Regions from separate parts of the Homo sapiens genome. Here regions 1 and 3 are each linked to region 2. Evidence: promoter capture Hi-C in 16 types of primary human blood cells and fetal thymus (Javierre and others, 2016). All regions are on one chromosome and are shown on one strand. The core of a region is centred on a gene start or on the middle of the fragment in contact, and the rest is flanking DNA. Distances in the headings are between cores, read along the strand shown. Region 1 overlaps CTNNA1 (catenin alpha 1). Region 2 holds the start of SNHG4 (small nucleolar RNA host gene 4). Region 3 has its middle 12 kb from the start of CTNNA1.

Region 1 (4,751 bases), core at 649-3,148, 510 kb after region 2:
CTCTACTAAAAATGTAAAAAATTAGCTGGGTGTCGTAGTACACACCTATGGTCCCAGCTATTCAGAAGGCTGAGGTGGGAGGATGGCTTGACCCTGTCTCAAAAAAAAAGCTTGGATTAATATTGAAATATTGAATCTAATGAAATATTCAACATACCATGAGAGAATGGTAACAATGCATCTTTGCCTAGAAAGAATGCATGTAACAGAGCCGCACAGGGCAAATGCACTATCAAAGGCTCAATCCTTCAATTAACTTGAAATGGGCCATAGTGAATGTGTTTTCTGAGTTATAACAGCACTTTCATTTTCAAGAACAGTCTGTATGTAGTCTAACCTAGTTAATAAATACAGGATTATGTAACTTGGTAATTAACCAGGTTTCCAACTCACATCTTCAATTCAGAATGTCAAATACTGACAAAAAAAAACATAGCAATAAGACACTTTCAAGAGAGTTGATGAGCCACTTATTTTTGACAATATTTAATAATGAAACCTCAAAACAAGAAAATGAAGGAAATTCACAGCTTGATATGATGGAATCAAATAGTCAAAACTAAGCAATCTAGGGAAAAAATTAGCCTTTAAATTAGCAATTAAGAAAGATAAATTTTTCTTCTGTTAAGCCCTTTTAGTCTAAAAAGAAAAAAAAACCTCTTAGAGACAAAAATTACATTAGCTTCCACAATATAGTTCCATCCCTCCTTTTAATAAAATGGGAACATGAAAAAAATGACAGACATTTTAAAAATCACTTCACACTACTCATACAATATTGTTCAAAATGAGCAAATGTTACAAGTATTTAGAACATCCGAAGTTGCCCTGTGAACTGTATTTACATTACATGCATTACTCCAAACTTACAGCTGGTAAAAAAAAAAAACCACAAATTAAATCCCAATCAAAAAGAGGGGTTGATCGATGACAGCCCATCAACAAGTAAGTGGAAATACATGCTAATTTCAAGCTCCATTAGAAATGGAGTTGTGGCATACTTCCACATGGAGAAAAATAAGTTTGATAGTTATAAAAAAAAACTAAAGAAAATAATGAACATTTAAGGCTCTAACAGAGAAAGGGCAATGTTGACATTTTATTTTTGAAGTGTGGTTCTTTGCACACTTGGAACTTTCAATAATGGATAATTCAGTATAGTGCTCTCACAAGTGAGCAAACAGCATGAGACAAGGCAAGTCACGCTGGACTAATTCCCCACACTGTTCAGTCCATTCAATCCAGGCCCACAACATGTGGGGGACAGGGCAGATCACCAAGCAGTACATGTAATATCTTCAAGGTCTGGAAGCAGGCATACTGGTACCCAGGCAAGTTTCAGAAAGTGCTGCTCTATGAGACTCTTCCAGATGTGTTTTAACTTTTTCCTTACAGAAAACAGAAGCTGCTAATAAGACTTAAATCCTCCAACATGCATAGAATAATAACCTAAATTTCTTTAGGACTTCAAAGTGGGCCAGGCGCAGTGGGTCACGCCTGTAATCTCAGCTCTTTGGGAGGCCAAGGCAGGTGGATCACTTGAGCTCAGGAGTTTGAGACCAGCCTGGGAAACACGGTGAAACTCTGTCTCTACAGAAAACACAAAAATTAGCCAGGCATTGTGGCAGGCGCCTGTAGTCCCAGCTCCATAGGAGGCTGCGGTGAGGGGATCACTTTCAACCCGGGAGGTCAAGGCTGCAGTGAGGTGTGATTGCACCACTGCACTCCAGCCTGGATGACTGAGTGAGACCCTGTATCAACAACAACAAAAAGACCTCAAAGTGTGTGGTTTTGGTCACTTGAGAAAAAAATGATTTGGGCAGAGAAGGTAGAAAGAATAATTGGGTTCATGTTTTTCACTACTTATTTATTATCTCCATATAGAAGGCCAAACTCACCCCCAAAATTTTTTTGAGTAAATTTTTTTACCTGTTCATTTTTCCACCTTTTATGCACAATAAAATTCACTCTCTCGTATACCAATCTAAAAACAGCTGTGTGGGCCAGGTGAGTGGCTAAAGCCCGCAATCCCAGCACTTTAGGAGGCGGACGGATCATTTGAGGTCAGGAGTTCAAAACCAGCCTGGCCAAAATGGTGAAACCCCGTCTCTACTAAAAGTACAAAAATTAAACAGGTCGTGGTGACACATGCTTGCAAATCCCAGCTACTCAGGAAGCTGAGGCAGGAGAATCATTTGAACTCAGGAAGTGGAGGTTGCAGTGAGCCGAGATCATGCCACTGCACTCCAGACTGGGCGACAGGGTGAGACTCTGTCTCAAAAAAAATAAATAACAGTTGTGTGATCACCTCCACAATCAAGATACAGAGAAGTCAAATGAATTTATTTTCACAACAGCATGTACCTACAACTAATCCACAGAATATAAGAGTACAAAATATTATTTACTTAGAACACCTGCTTCAAGAGCTAAGTGGGCATCAACTTCTGAAGAGGCTGACGAAGGACTACAGTTGACAAGGCAGATCCCTAACATCCCTGACAAGGAACGTTCCTGAACAGAAATTCAGTACCAAACCCTTTCTGGATGACATCATCACCAGCATGTGGCCTTCCAGAACTTATTATATATCCAACCAGCCCGAGAGACATCTCCTCTTCTATCCAAGTTTGTGACCTGCTATTAAAACCCCCCTTTCAGCTTCATTCAACAGTCAGCCTACAGTCACACCACTTCAAGTACTCAGACAATAGATCAAGAATGTCTAAAGTGGAAAATACCCTGATGTACCACAGGTGATGATAAAGTACATTTCTGGAGAGGAATTTGGAAAAATTTTAAGAGCTATAAAAAAGTAGCATACCTTGGAAATAATCCAAACGTCCATCAACATATGAATGGATAGGTCAGACGTGGTGGCTCACGCCTGTAATCCCAGCAGTTTTCGAGGCTGAGGCAGGTGAATCATTTGAGGTCAGGAGTTAGAGACCAGCCTGGCCAATATGGTGAAACCCCGTTTCTACTAAAAATAAAGAAATTAGCCGGGTGGTAGTGGCGCACACCTGTAATCCCAGCTACTCAGGAGGCTGAGGCAGGAGAATCGTTTTGAGCTTGGGAGGCAGAGGTTGTGGTGAGCCAAGATCGCACCACTGCACTCCAGCCTGGACAACAGAGACTCTGTCCCCTCCAAAAAAAAAAGTATGAATGGATAAACAAAATATGGCATATACATACAATAAATGGAACATTATTCAGCCTTTAAAAGGAAAGAAATCCGGCTGAGCACGGTGGCTCACTCCTGCAATCCCAGCACTTTGGTAGGCCGAGGCGGGTGGATCACCTGAGGTCAGGAGTTCAAGACCAGCCTGACCAACATGGAGAAACCCCGTCTCTACTAAAAATAACAAAATTAGCCAGGCATGGTGGCGCATGCCTGTATCCCAGCTACTCAGGAGGCTGAGGCAGGAGAATCGCTTGAACCCGGGAGGCGGAGGTTGTGGTGAGCCAAGATCGCGCCATTGCACTCCAGCCTGGGCGACAAGAGTGAAACTCCATCTCATAAAAAAAAAAAAAAAAAAAAAAAAAAAAAGGAAAGAAATTCTGGGAGAGGATTCCAGATTCTAAAACAGCAGAGTAGGAAGCACCAAGATCAGTCTCCCCACCTAGACAATTACACTGGCATAATTAGTCAGATGTAATTCTGGGGACTGTTGAAGAAAGCTTGCAACTTCCAAGGAAAGACTGGGACAGTAAATTGGGTTAATTTCAGTCAATTTCAGCCCTTAGCTGAGCAGCAGCTACCCCATTCCCTAGCCCCCAGCCACGGGCAGACAACCTACAATGCATTCCTGAAACAGCTTGCAAGCAGCTTTTGGGAACCAGGATGGGTAATAAGGACCCTGTCCTCCAAATATTAGGGATCCGTATTCTAATTGCTGATTGCTGCTTATAATCAGGGATAGGCAGACACTGAGAAGGATAGCCATTATTGCACCCCCTCCATGACTGCAAGTCCTCCCCCTCCAGCTGAAGTAGACTTCCAGGAAATTTAATGGGCCAAGGGCCCCCACCTCCCTACTTCCTTCATTTTTCTCTTTTTCCTCTTTAGGAGCTAGACTTTAAAGACTAGGATATTCAAAAGCAATCATGAGGGTGCGGGGGAGATAAGGAAAAAAGTTACCATGGTGCATGCGCCCAGGGAAAGGTGCAGGCTCAAAAAAGACCTGAGAAGTCCTTAAGTTTGTATCTCAGGCTGATCCTCAGCATAAAAACAAACTGTAACAAATAAACAAAAAAATCCAGCAAACCCTGGGAATGAGAAGAGTCCAATTTTCAGAGTTAGCACATCATTAGATTCAAATGTCCAGTTTTCAAAAAAAAATTAAAAAGTCCCAGGTCATACAAAGATACAGGAAAGTATGACCCATTAAAAGAAAAAAAAAATTAACCAATAAAAACTGTCCCAGTTGCTGGGCACGGTGGCTCATGCCTGTAATCCCAGTACTTTGGGAAGCCAAGGCTGGCTGATCACCTGAGGTCAGGAGTTCAAGACCAGCCTGACCAACATGGAGAATCCCTGTCTCTACTTAAAATACAAAATTAGCCAGGTGTGGTGGCGCATGCCTGTAATCCCAGCTACTCAAGAGGCTGAGGCAGGAGAATCGCTTAAAGCCAGGAGGCAGTGCAGTGAGCCAAGATCACGCCATTGCACTCCAGTCCGGGCAACGAGAGCAAAACTCCATCTCAAAAAAAAAACAAAAACTGTCCCAGAGAAAGACCAGATGGAAGAC
Region 2 (4,558 bases), core at 953-3,452:
TAGTCAACACAAGAGTTGGCATGAACCAGGGCCAGAATGCCAACCAGCTATTGGCTGCTGTTCTCCCAGCAGTGTAACACTTGCCTAGGTACAAGACAACCTAGGCAGCTGCCTACAGCTGGAGCCAAGAGAGCTGAAGGGGTTGCACTCACCTGCAGTTGCATCTGCCACAGCCAGCCTCTCTGCAATGAAACAACTCCAGGTTAGTCAGCCAACAGTGAACACGTGTGCAGCTCAGAGTCCCTCCCCTCAAAACACGGTAACTTAGGCCTAAGCCACAGAAACAATAGCAGACAATAAAACCAATAGCTTATCCTTGTTTAGCTTTGTTTTCATCTCTTGTTACTTATACACCACAGCAGTTCAATAGTAGCAAAAGAGTCGATTAAACAAATATCAGGGAGCCTGGCTCTATCCCCTAACCAGTGTCTAGCCAAATGATACTGGGCGAGAAACCTCTCTATACCTCAGTCTCATTTGTAGAATGGAGGTATTATATTACAGGGTCTTTCTCTGCCACCCAGGCTGGAGTGCAGTGGCACAATCATGGCTCACTGCAGCCTCCACTTCCTGGGCTCAAGTGATTCTCCTACCTCAGCCTCCTGAGTAGCTGGGACTACAGGCGTGAGCGAGCACACCAAGCTGAATGGGGATATTACTAATAGTCCTCTGTAAATAGGGTGGTTGGGAGGCTTAAGTGAAATATAAGCTAATCCTCAGGATAATGTCTGGTATAGTGTGGGCACTCAGTAAACACCTGAGGAGCTACATTCCAAAAAAGGCTTAGATGGTGAATATGAGTGAGTAAAAAGGGAAAAGTTATCCAGTGAGAGAAACGGGCAGTGAACAGTGGGAACACTGGATAGAGGAGGGCCTCCAATACTTCCTGAAGGACAATAAAAACAGCACTTGGAAAAATAACTGCAGTATTGGATGTGAGGGGAATTGGAGGCAGTAGTCGTGCCAAGACCTCAACTACTGATTAAAAGCAATAACGAAAATGTTAGGCCGGGCGCGGTGGCTCACGCCTGTAATCCCAGCACTTTGGGAGGCTGAGGCTGGCGGATCACGAGTTCAGGAGATCGAGACCATACTGGCTAACACGGTGAAACCCCGTCTCTACTAAAAATACAAAAAAAAAAAAAAAAAAAAAAAAAAAATTAGCCGGGCGTGGTGGCGGGCACCTGTAGTCCCTGTTACTCGGGATGCTGAGGCAGGAGAATGGCATGAACCCAGGAGGCGGAGGTTGCAGTGAGCCGAGATCGCCCTACTGCACTCCAGCCTGGGCAACAGAGCAAGACTCCGTTAAAAAAAATAAAAATAACCAAAATGTTTGCACAAATGATAATAAATATTCCTACACAGTCACCATTTTTTTTTAGACGGAGTCTTGCTCTGTTACCAGGTTGGAATGCAGTGGTGCTATCTCGGCTCACTGCAATCTCTGCCTCCCGGGTTCAAGCGATTCTCCTGCCTCAGCCTCCCGACTTCAGGCGTGCGACACCACGCCCAGCTAAGTTTTGTATTTTTAGTAGAGACGGGGTTTCACCATGTTGGCCAGGATGGTCTTCTTCTCTTGACCTCGTCATCCGCCCGCCTCGGCCTCCCAAAGTGCTGAGATTACAGGCGTGAGCCACGCGCCCGGCCTCACAGTCACCATTATAATTTATGTAAGGCTAAGATCATACCTTTTTCCAGCCATCCCCAAATTTCACTCCTGACTTCCTCCAAATAATTTAGAGGAACAGGAAAATGAGTAGAGAGGGTTCATTGTTCGCTGGGTCTAAAAACAGATCTAAAAATAGCCTGCCCCTTTCAAGGCTCGGGTTAAAGGGGCTGACTCAGTTCCACCGGACATTTGTTCCTCACAAACCTTCCAAAGTCCCTGCCTCTGGCCCTGGGAGATCGAGGCTCTCGGAGTCAGGCTCTATGGGACTCCCTAGGGAGAAGAGGGAAGAGGGATGGTAGAAAAACAGGGGACGACTCCGAGGCCCAAGTCTCTTTCAGATGCCCTCCAAGCTCGGGATCACGAGGGGACGAACCCCAATTTCGTCCCGTGCCCCGGCAGAAGCCACCCTGCACTGCTTCTTTCCCCAGGCTGGGAAACCTCCAAGGACTCTCCCCTCTGGGTCCTTACTCACGCGCACGTGTTCGGAGCTCCGCAGGGCGCAGCAGCACCGGCAGAGGCCGGAGGGGAAAGGGCAGCCGGGAGCCGAGGGGAACCCCGCCCCGGGGCGGCTACTGGGCGTGGCTTCGGTGGGCGGGGCCCTTGACCCCGCCTAGGAAAGGCCGGGCTTTAAAAAAAAAAAAAAATGCGAGTGCGGTGGCAGAGGTGAACCTGCTTCTTAGAGGAGAGAAGGGCTGGGGTCTGAGCAATGGCTGGGTTTGTTGGACTCCCATCCCATCTCTTAAGGGTAGAAGGGGCGCATAGTTCGCAGCTGCTCAGGAGAGAATCTGTGTGTCCTAGTGGAGCCAGGCTTCCTGCCTGCCCACACTGAGCGCCCCCGGAACGCTGGTTCCGCTCACGAGCGTGGCGCCTTTCCGTTGCTGCAGGCCCAGCCCACGCTTTTGCGCTTCCCACGCATATCCTTTTTCTGGCTTTCTGCGGCAGCGCTGTCATTCGGCTAATGGATCGCTCACCCACGCAGGTCACCTTGGTCCACGGTCTTCGGGATCTTTCCAGGAGGTTTTCGAATAGATTAAGCCAGTCACTCCTACTGCTGACCTCTGCAGGACCGGCCTCCCTAGTGCCCTGCAGTGGGATTCTTCGCCGAGCTGCAGTAACTGAAGAACACTGGCTTTCTCTGCTAGACTTGCCCTGCACCATGGCACAGTCAGGCAGAGTCCTTGGTCAGGACAGACTGCCTGCAAGGCTACCAGGATTTCTTTGGAACACTAAAACTTCCCTCTCCCAGTGGCTAGAGTCCATATGATTCTGCTGGGGTCCAGAGTGGAAGGCCTACAAGCAGTGATTCCCAACTCCATTCTCTAATTCCCCCAAATTCCTTTCCGACACCCGCCCCCCAACAACAACAACCAATCCTGTAAGTTTTGCTGATCTCTTGCACCTGGCACCATTGCCAGGTGAACCCCTGGGAACCAAGCCACTGCCCTTGGCATCTGCCAACATGTTTCATTGTCTATTTCCTCAGCTCTTTCATAATGAAAAAGGTATGCTTCTTGTGCACCCCAACTCTTGCAGACCTCTCCTAAGAAAGCCCAGAGCCCCAGTTTGATTCCAGCAAGAGACCCTAGGCTGTAGGGCCAAAGAGCCACTGGAGGGGAAGTGGCAAGCTCAAATCCTCCCCAGTTTTGATGCAGTTGGACATAGGCTCTGGTTGGGAAAAGGCTTACATAAATACAGTAATTTAAAAAGTCACATGACCAGTGCTGGGCTGGTAGGCAGGAGCTCTGCTTTGCAGTTAAATAGGAATGTGGCTGAAGACTGCTGCCATAATCAATGCCCACATCCGGCTGTCACAGCGTGTTCATAAAGGAAGGTTATGAGAGCTATAAAACCAGGCAGATTGGGTGGGTAATTGTCCTACCGAGCTCTGCTAAAGGAGAAATTGCATTGGCATCTCATATATTTCGCTTTCTTTCCTTCCAAACACACAAAGTGGAGAGGGCAGAGCTACCCTGAAGATTCATGAAAAGGAAAGATAGGGTGTGTGTGTGTGTGTGTGTGTGTGTGTGTATGTGTGTGTGTGAATGTGCATGTGTGCTTTCAGAGAAGAGACAAGAAGTAACTGAGGACAGGGAGCTATGCAGACCTTTGGGGAGAGAGGGACCAATAATCTGGTGATGACTGGATTCAGATTAGTCCAGGTAGAAGGCAGGATTTATGTGGAAGGCCAGCCATTATAAATAAGGCTGTGAGGTAAGCCATATTTTCATGTCCTGTTGAACAAGTGGTCAACTTTTTGGGCTATAGGTCTTTCAATGACCTTTGGAGAAAAACCTAGATGAAGATTTTGTTTCCAACTTAAAAATCCTTCATAGTCAACCTTTTTGACTTCCATCCTTTTAAATTCTGAATTAATTTTGATGGGTTGATTTATGTTTTTTTTACCTGTAATATCAACTATTTTTCTACTTTTTTGTTTCTTCTTGCAAAGACAAAATTATTGAGAATAATAACAAAAAATAAAAGGGAACATTTCTAGAAAAAAAGATGCAGCTAGATGGAAAGCAAAGGACTAGGGGAAGTCCATTAGCTCTGAGTTTGACCTCATAACTTAAAGCTGACCTCAAGTGACACCAGGTCCCCAAGCTTCTTCCCTGCCTTTCTCTTTATCCTCCATCTCTCCTCTCATTCCTGCTTCCCTCCTTGATGCTTTCTGCCTCTAAGACTGCTCTTTTTCTTTCTCCCTGAACAGGGAGAAAAACCACCAGTAGAGAAATATCTAGTCATTTGTTCAGTTAGTCAGTCACTCAGTCAATCAACATTTACGAAACATCTATCATGTGCCAGACTCTGTTCAGATGCTGCAGATAAAGTCAGAACAATAGAGATTCCTGCCTGCCTAAAGCTTACAGTCTAGAGGAGAAGAATGAC
Region 3 (4,442 bases), core at 1,263-3,762, 530 kb after region 2:
AAGAATCTTCCCACCTCGGCCTCCCAAAGTGCTGGGATTACAGACATAGGCCACTATGCCCGGCCTCTGCTCACTGTTATAACTCTAGCACCTAAAGCAGTGCCTGGCAGTTAACAGGAACTCAGTTGAATTAATGAGTAGTTAAGTCTGTGAGGATACACAGCAAATGTTCCAGTAGTTAAACAAAGGGAGGGGAGGGGAGTAGAGTAGAGCAGAGGGGTCTTTAAAACAGATTAGATGGTTTAGAGTACATAGTGTAGTATATAGTATGTAAGTGTCGTGGGGATGGAAAGAAGTGGATAGATTTGGGAGCTACGCAGAAGAACAGAGGAGCCTAGGCCTTGCCGATGGATTGGATATGGAGGTTCTGGGAAAGGAGAAGTCAAGAATCATCTTCAGGTTTCTGATTTGATCAGTGAGGAAATAGTGGTGCCATTTACCCAGAGAGATAGAGAAAGAGCCCTGGAGGTAAAGCTTGTGGGGAAGTGGGTGGAGAGTCATGCAGACAGTTATTTTTGGTCATGCTTAGTTTCAGTGCCTACCAAACATATATGAGGAAATGTTCTATAGACAGGGAAATATCCAGACGTGAGCTCAGGAAAGACCCAGTGTGGAGAGAAAGATGTGTAAGTCACCTGCACTTAGAGAATGTGTGCTAGGAAAGCATGAAGGTCCAGACCCAACATTTAAGAGAAAGAGAAACCAAAACAGGAGACTGTGTTGCCCTCTGCAACACCAGAGCCCTCCTTTTTGCCTAAAATGCATCAATTCCTTTCCCACATCAGGATCTTTCCATTTGTTGTACTCTCTACTTGGAAATCTCTTTGCCTTAACTCTTCACCAGCCTGGCTCCTTCTCATTCCTGAGGGCCAGTTTCTTTCCTTTTTTTTTTTTTTTTTTTTTTTGAGACGGAGTCTCATTCTGTCACCCAGGCTGGAGTGCAGTGGCGTGATCTCAGCTCACTGCAAGCTCCACCTCCTGGGTTCATGCCATTCTCCTGCCTCAGCCTTCCGAGCAGCTGGGACTATAGGCACCTGCCACCATGCCCGGCTAATTTTTTTTATTTTTAGTAGAGATGGGGTTTCACCGTGTTAGCCAGGATGGTCTCGATCTCCTGACCTCGTTATCTGCCCACCTCAGCCTCCCAAAGTGCGGGATTACAGGCATGAGCCACCGCGCCCGACTGAGGGCCAGTTTCTATATCATCTGGTCAGAGAGGCCTTTCCTGACCACACCTCAAACACCCCAGTCTCTCTCTACCACATCACTGCATTTTTGTTCTTTATAGCACTTGTTCTGCTCTAGAATTGTCTTGTTTGCCTGCTGGTTTATTTTCTGCCTCCTCCATTAGGAGGAGCTCCATAAGGACAAGAACTTGTCTCATTTTTTGATTTCTTTGCTCCCATAATTTAACACAGGGCCTGAAACATAAAATGCACTTTAAAAATATTTGCTGAAAGAATATGGGCTATAGACGTAGGAGAAAAATCAAGTGTCATTAAAGCCAAGGACTTGGTCACTGATTTCAATTGATGGCATTTGGGTTGAAACTTTAGATTTCAACTTACTTTAGGTTGCCGAACATAATGCCCATACCCACCAAATTTAAGGCTGTGCCAAGAATATTAAGGAAAAAACAAAACAAAAACCCTATCAAAGATCATTTTAGAGATTCTCTACATCATGAGGACTTTGTTATTATTTACCTACCTGTCATAATTGTTTCATTATCATGCTGGTAAATAGCTTCACAGTTTAAAAAGCACTTTCCTGGATATTGTCTCATTTGAGGCACTCCAAACCCCTAAGAAAGGTACTCCACAACTTTTTTTTTTTTTTTGAGACAAAGTCTCACTCTGTTTGTTGCCCAGGCTGGAGTGCAGTAATGCTATCTCAGCTCACTGCAACCTCCACCTCCAGGGTTCAAGCGATGCTCATGCCTCAGGCTCCTGAGTTGCTGGGATTACAGGTGCGCGCCACCACACCCAGCTAATTTTTGTATTTTTAGTAGAGACATGGTGTCACCATGGCTGGTCTCAAATTCCCAACCTCAAGTGATCTGCCCTCCTCCACCTCCCAAAGTTCTGGGACTACAGGCGTGAGCCACAGTGCCTGGCCTCCACAAGTCTGTAATCCCAGCAGTTTGGGAGGCTGAGGCGGGTGGATCACGAGGTCAGGAGACTGAGACCATCCTGGCTAACAAGGTGAAACCCCGTCACTGCACTCCAGCCTGGGTAACAGACCAAGACTCTGTCAGAAAGAAAGAAAGAAAGAAAGAGAGAGAGAGAGAGAGAGAGAGAGAGAGAGAGAGAGAGAGAGAGAGAGAGGAAGAGGAAGGGAGGGAAGAAGGAAGGAAGGAAGGAAGGAAGGCAGGCAGGCAGGCAGGCCGGCTGGCCGGGTAAGATGGTTCATGCCTGTAATCCCAGCACTTTGGGAGGTGGAAGCAGGCAGACCACTTGAGGGCGGGAGTTCCAGACCACCCTGGCTAACATGGTGAAAGCCTGTCTCTACTAAACAAACAAACAAACAAAAATTAGCTGGGAGTGGTGGCGCACGTCTGTAGTCCTAGCTACTCAGGAGGCTGAGGCAGAAATCACTTGAACCTGGGAGGCGGAGGTTGTAGTGAGCCAGGATGGCGCCACTGCACTCCCCCAGCCTGGGCAATAGAGGGGACCCCATCACAAAAAACAAAAAAAAACAAAACAAAAAAAGAAAGGTAGAACTAAAATGAGTAAAGATGTCGGAATGATGAAGACAAGAGCTGACTTGGCAGCTTTGTAATGAAGATTGGAAAATCTTTACTCGTGGCCACGAAGTGGTGAGCACCCCCTCCGCCAATTAAGTTCCATAGAAAAAGTTAAAGGGACTCTTGGTTTAGCCTGAGGAAAGCCAGCAAAAGGAGTTAGATTTAGACAAGAGTCAGTAAAAACAAAAGGTAAAACCAAAGTGTGGGCCACATCAGGGTTAGCCAATGCCTGATGGCCCTGGTTGCCTTTCAGTTTATTTTCAGATGAGTGGGAGAAAAGCAGGGGAGGCCTGCCCACCCTAGTTTTGTCTGTTGGTTTAGTTAACATCAGAGGATTTCCTCATTTCTGTAGAGCCCAGTAATTCTCAACTCTGGCAGCACACAAGAATCACCTGGAGAGCTTTTAAAAAATATGATACTCAGGCACCACCCCCAGGACTCAGATTCAATTGTTCTTCAGTAGGAACTTAGCATTTTAAAAAATCTCCCTGGGTGATTCTAATGTGCAGCCGGAGTTGAGAATCACTGATACCTAATATAAGCCTGAGCAGAAAACAAAGTCATGTATACCTAAAACTTATTAATTCATTTGCTCATACAATAATTAACACACTCGATGAGTAAAAATAATAATAGTTCATATTTACTAAGTCTTTGATGTATGCCAGGCTCTGTGCTAAATGCTTCATATTTCTTTATTTTTTATTTTATTTTTTTTGAGACAGAGTCTTGCTCTGTCACCAGGCTGGAGTGCAGTGGCGCGATCTCGGCTCACTGCAACCTCCGCCTCCCAGGTTCAAGCAATTCCCCTGCCTCGGCCTCCTGAGTAGCTGGGACTACAGGCTCACGCCACCACACTTGGCTAATTTTTTTTTTGTATTTTAGTAGGGATAGGGTTTCACCATGTTGGCCAGGATGGTCTCGATCTCCTGACCTCGTGATCCGCCCACCTCGGCCTCCCAAAGTGCTGGGATTACAGGCAAGAGCCACTGCTCCAGGCAAAGTGCTTCATATTTCATCCAGGCCTCTCAACAATCCTACAGTAGTTAATGTTGTATTCCTCATTCTATAAATAAGAAAACAGAGACTTAGGTCATGCTGAGATTATGTGGCAGTGCTGGGGCCCAGATCTGCCAGAATCCAGAACCACCCTCTTTTTTAGTTGTTGTTGTTTTTTCGAGATGAAGTCTTGCTCTGTCACCCAGGCTGGAGCGCGATCTCAGCTCACTGCAACCTCTGCCTCCCGGGTTCACGCCATTCTCCTGCCTCAGCCTCCCGAGTAGCTGGGATTACAGGCACCTGCCACCACACCCAGCTAATTTTTGTATTTTAGTATAGACAGGGTTTCACCACATTGGCCAGGCTGGTCTTGAACTTCTGACCTTGTGATCCACCCACCTCAGCCTTTCAAAGAGCTGGGATTACAGGTGTGAGTCACTGCGCCCAGCCCAGAACCATGCTCTTAACCACTCCCACTTAGCCTCTGAAATGTCAATGGGTTTTTAAAAATCTTTCTTGAAAAGCCACATTCAAAATAGTTTTCCTGTCAAGACGATACCATAATGGAGGTGATTTAAATGCCTCGTTTTTATGCTATATACGTCTTGTCTTTTTGCACAGCTTCAAGCGGTCTGACAGGTGGGGCTGTTTGGGGAGTTAGGGGGTCCCAGGACGAGGGCTTCACTTGCATCCCTTT

The links. Contacts are between HindIII fragments. The CHiCAGO score rates a contact against its expected background, and 5 or more counts as called.
Region 1: a fragment that was not itself captured here is called in contact with the fragment with the promoter of SNHG4 in region 2 in 1 of 17 cell types (M1 macrophages); the score reaches 5.6 in M1 macrophages.
Region 3: a fragment that was not itself captured here is called in contact with the fragment with the promoter of SNHG4 in region 2 in 1 of 17 cell types (erythroblasts); the score reaches 5.1 in erythroblasts.

Annotation. Positions count from the first base shown.
Region 1 is chr5:138,758,780-138,763,530 of GRCh38, reverse strand. The region is part of intron 1 of CTNNA1 (catenin alpha 1); the gene reads right to left. Among named protein-coding and RNA genes, the nearest start is that of CTNNA1-AS1, 7.2 kb to the right of the region's middle. The HindIII fragment of the contact is 3,571 bases long and covers 113-3,683 here.
Region 2 is chr5:139,271,745-139,276,302 of GRCh38, reverse strand. It overlaps SNHG4 (small nucleolar RNA host gene 4), which reads right to left and starts at 2,202. Exons shown (of 7, transcript NR_182757.1): 1 at 2,142-2,202; 2 at 1,689-1,939; 3 at 153-182. LOC124901081 (a long non-coding RNA gene) reads left to right here. Exons shown (of 4, transcript XR_007058956.1): 4 at 2,649-3,236. It overlaps SNORA74D (small nucleolar RNA, H/ACA box 74D), which reads right to left and starts at 123; the gene lies at 1-123. It also overlaps a transcript of MATR3 not described here. RefSeq lists a silencer at 2,129-2,208 and an enhancer at 2,499-2,848. The HindIII fragment of the contact is 4,492 bases long and covers 1-4,275 here.
Region 3 is chr5:138,738,727-138,743,168 of GRCh38, reverse strand. No RefSeq gene overlaps it. Among named protein-coding and RNA genes, the nearest start is that of CTNNA1, 12 kb to the left of the region's middle. RefSeq lists an enhancer at 397-696 and a silencer at 4,053-4,192. The HindIII fragment of the contact is 4,072 bases long and covers 477-4,442 here.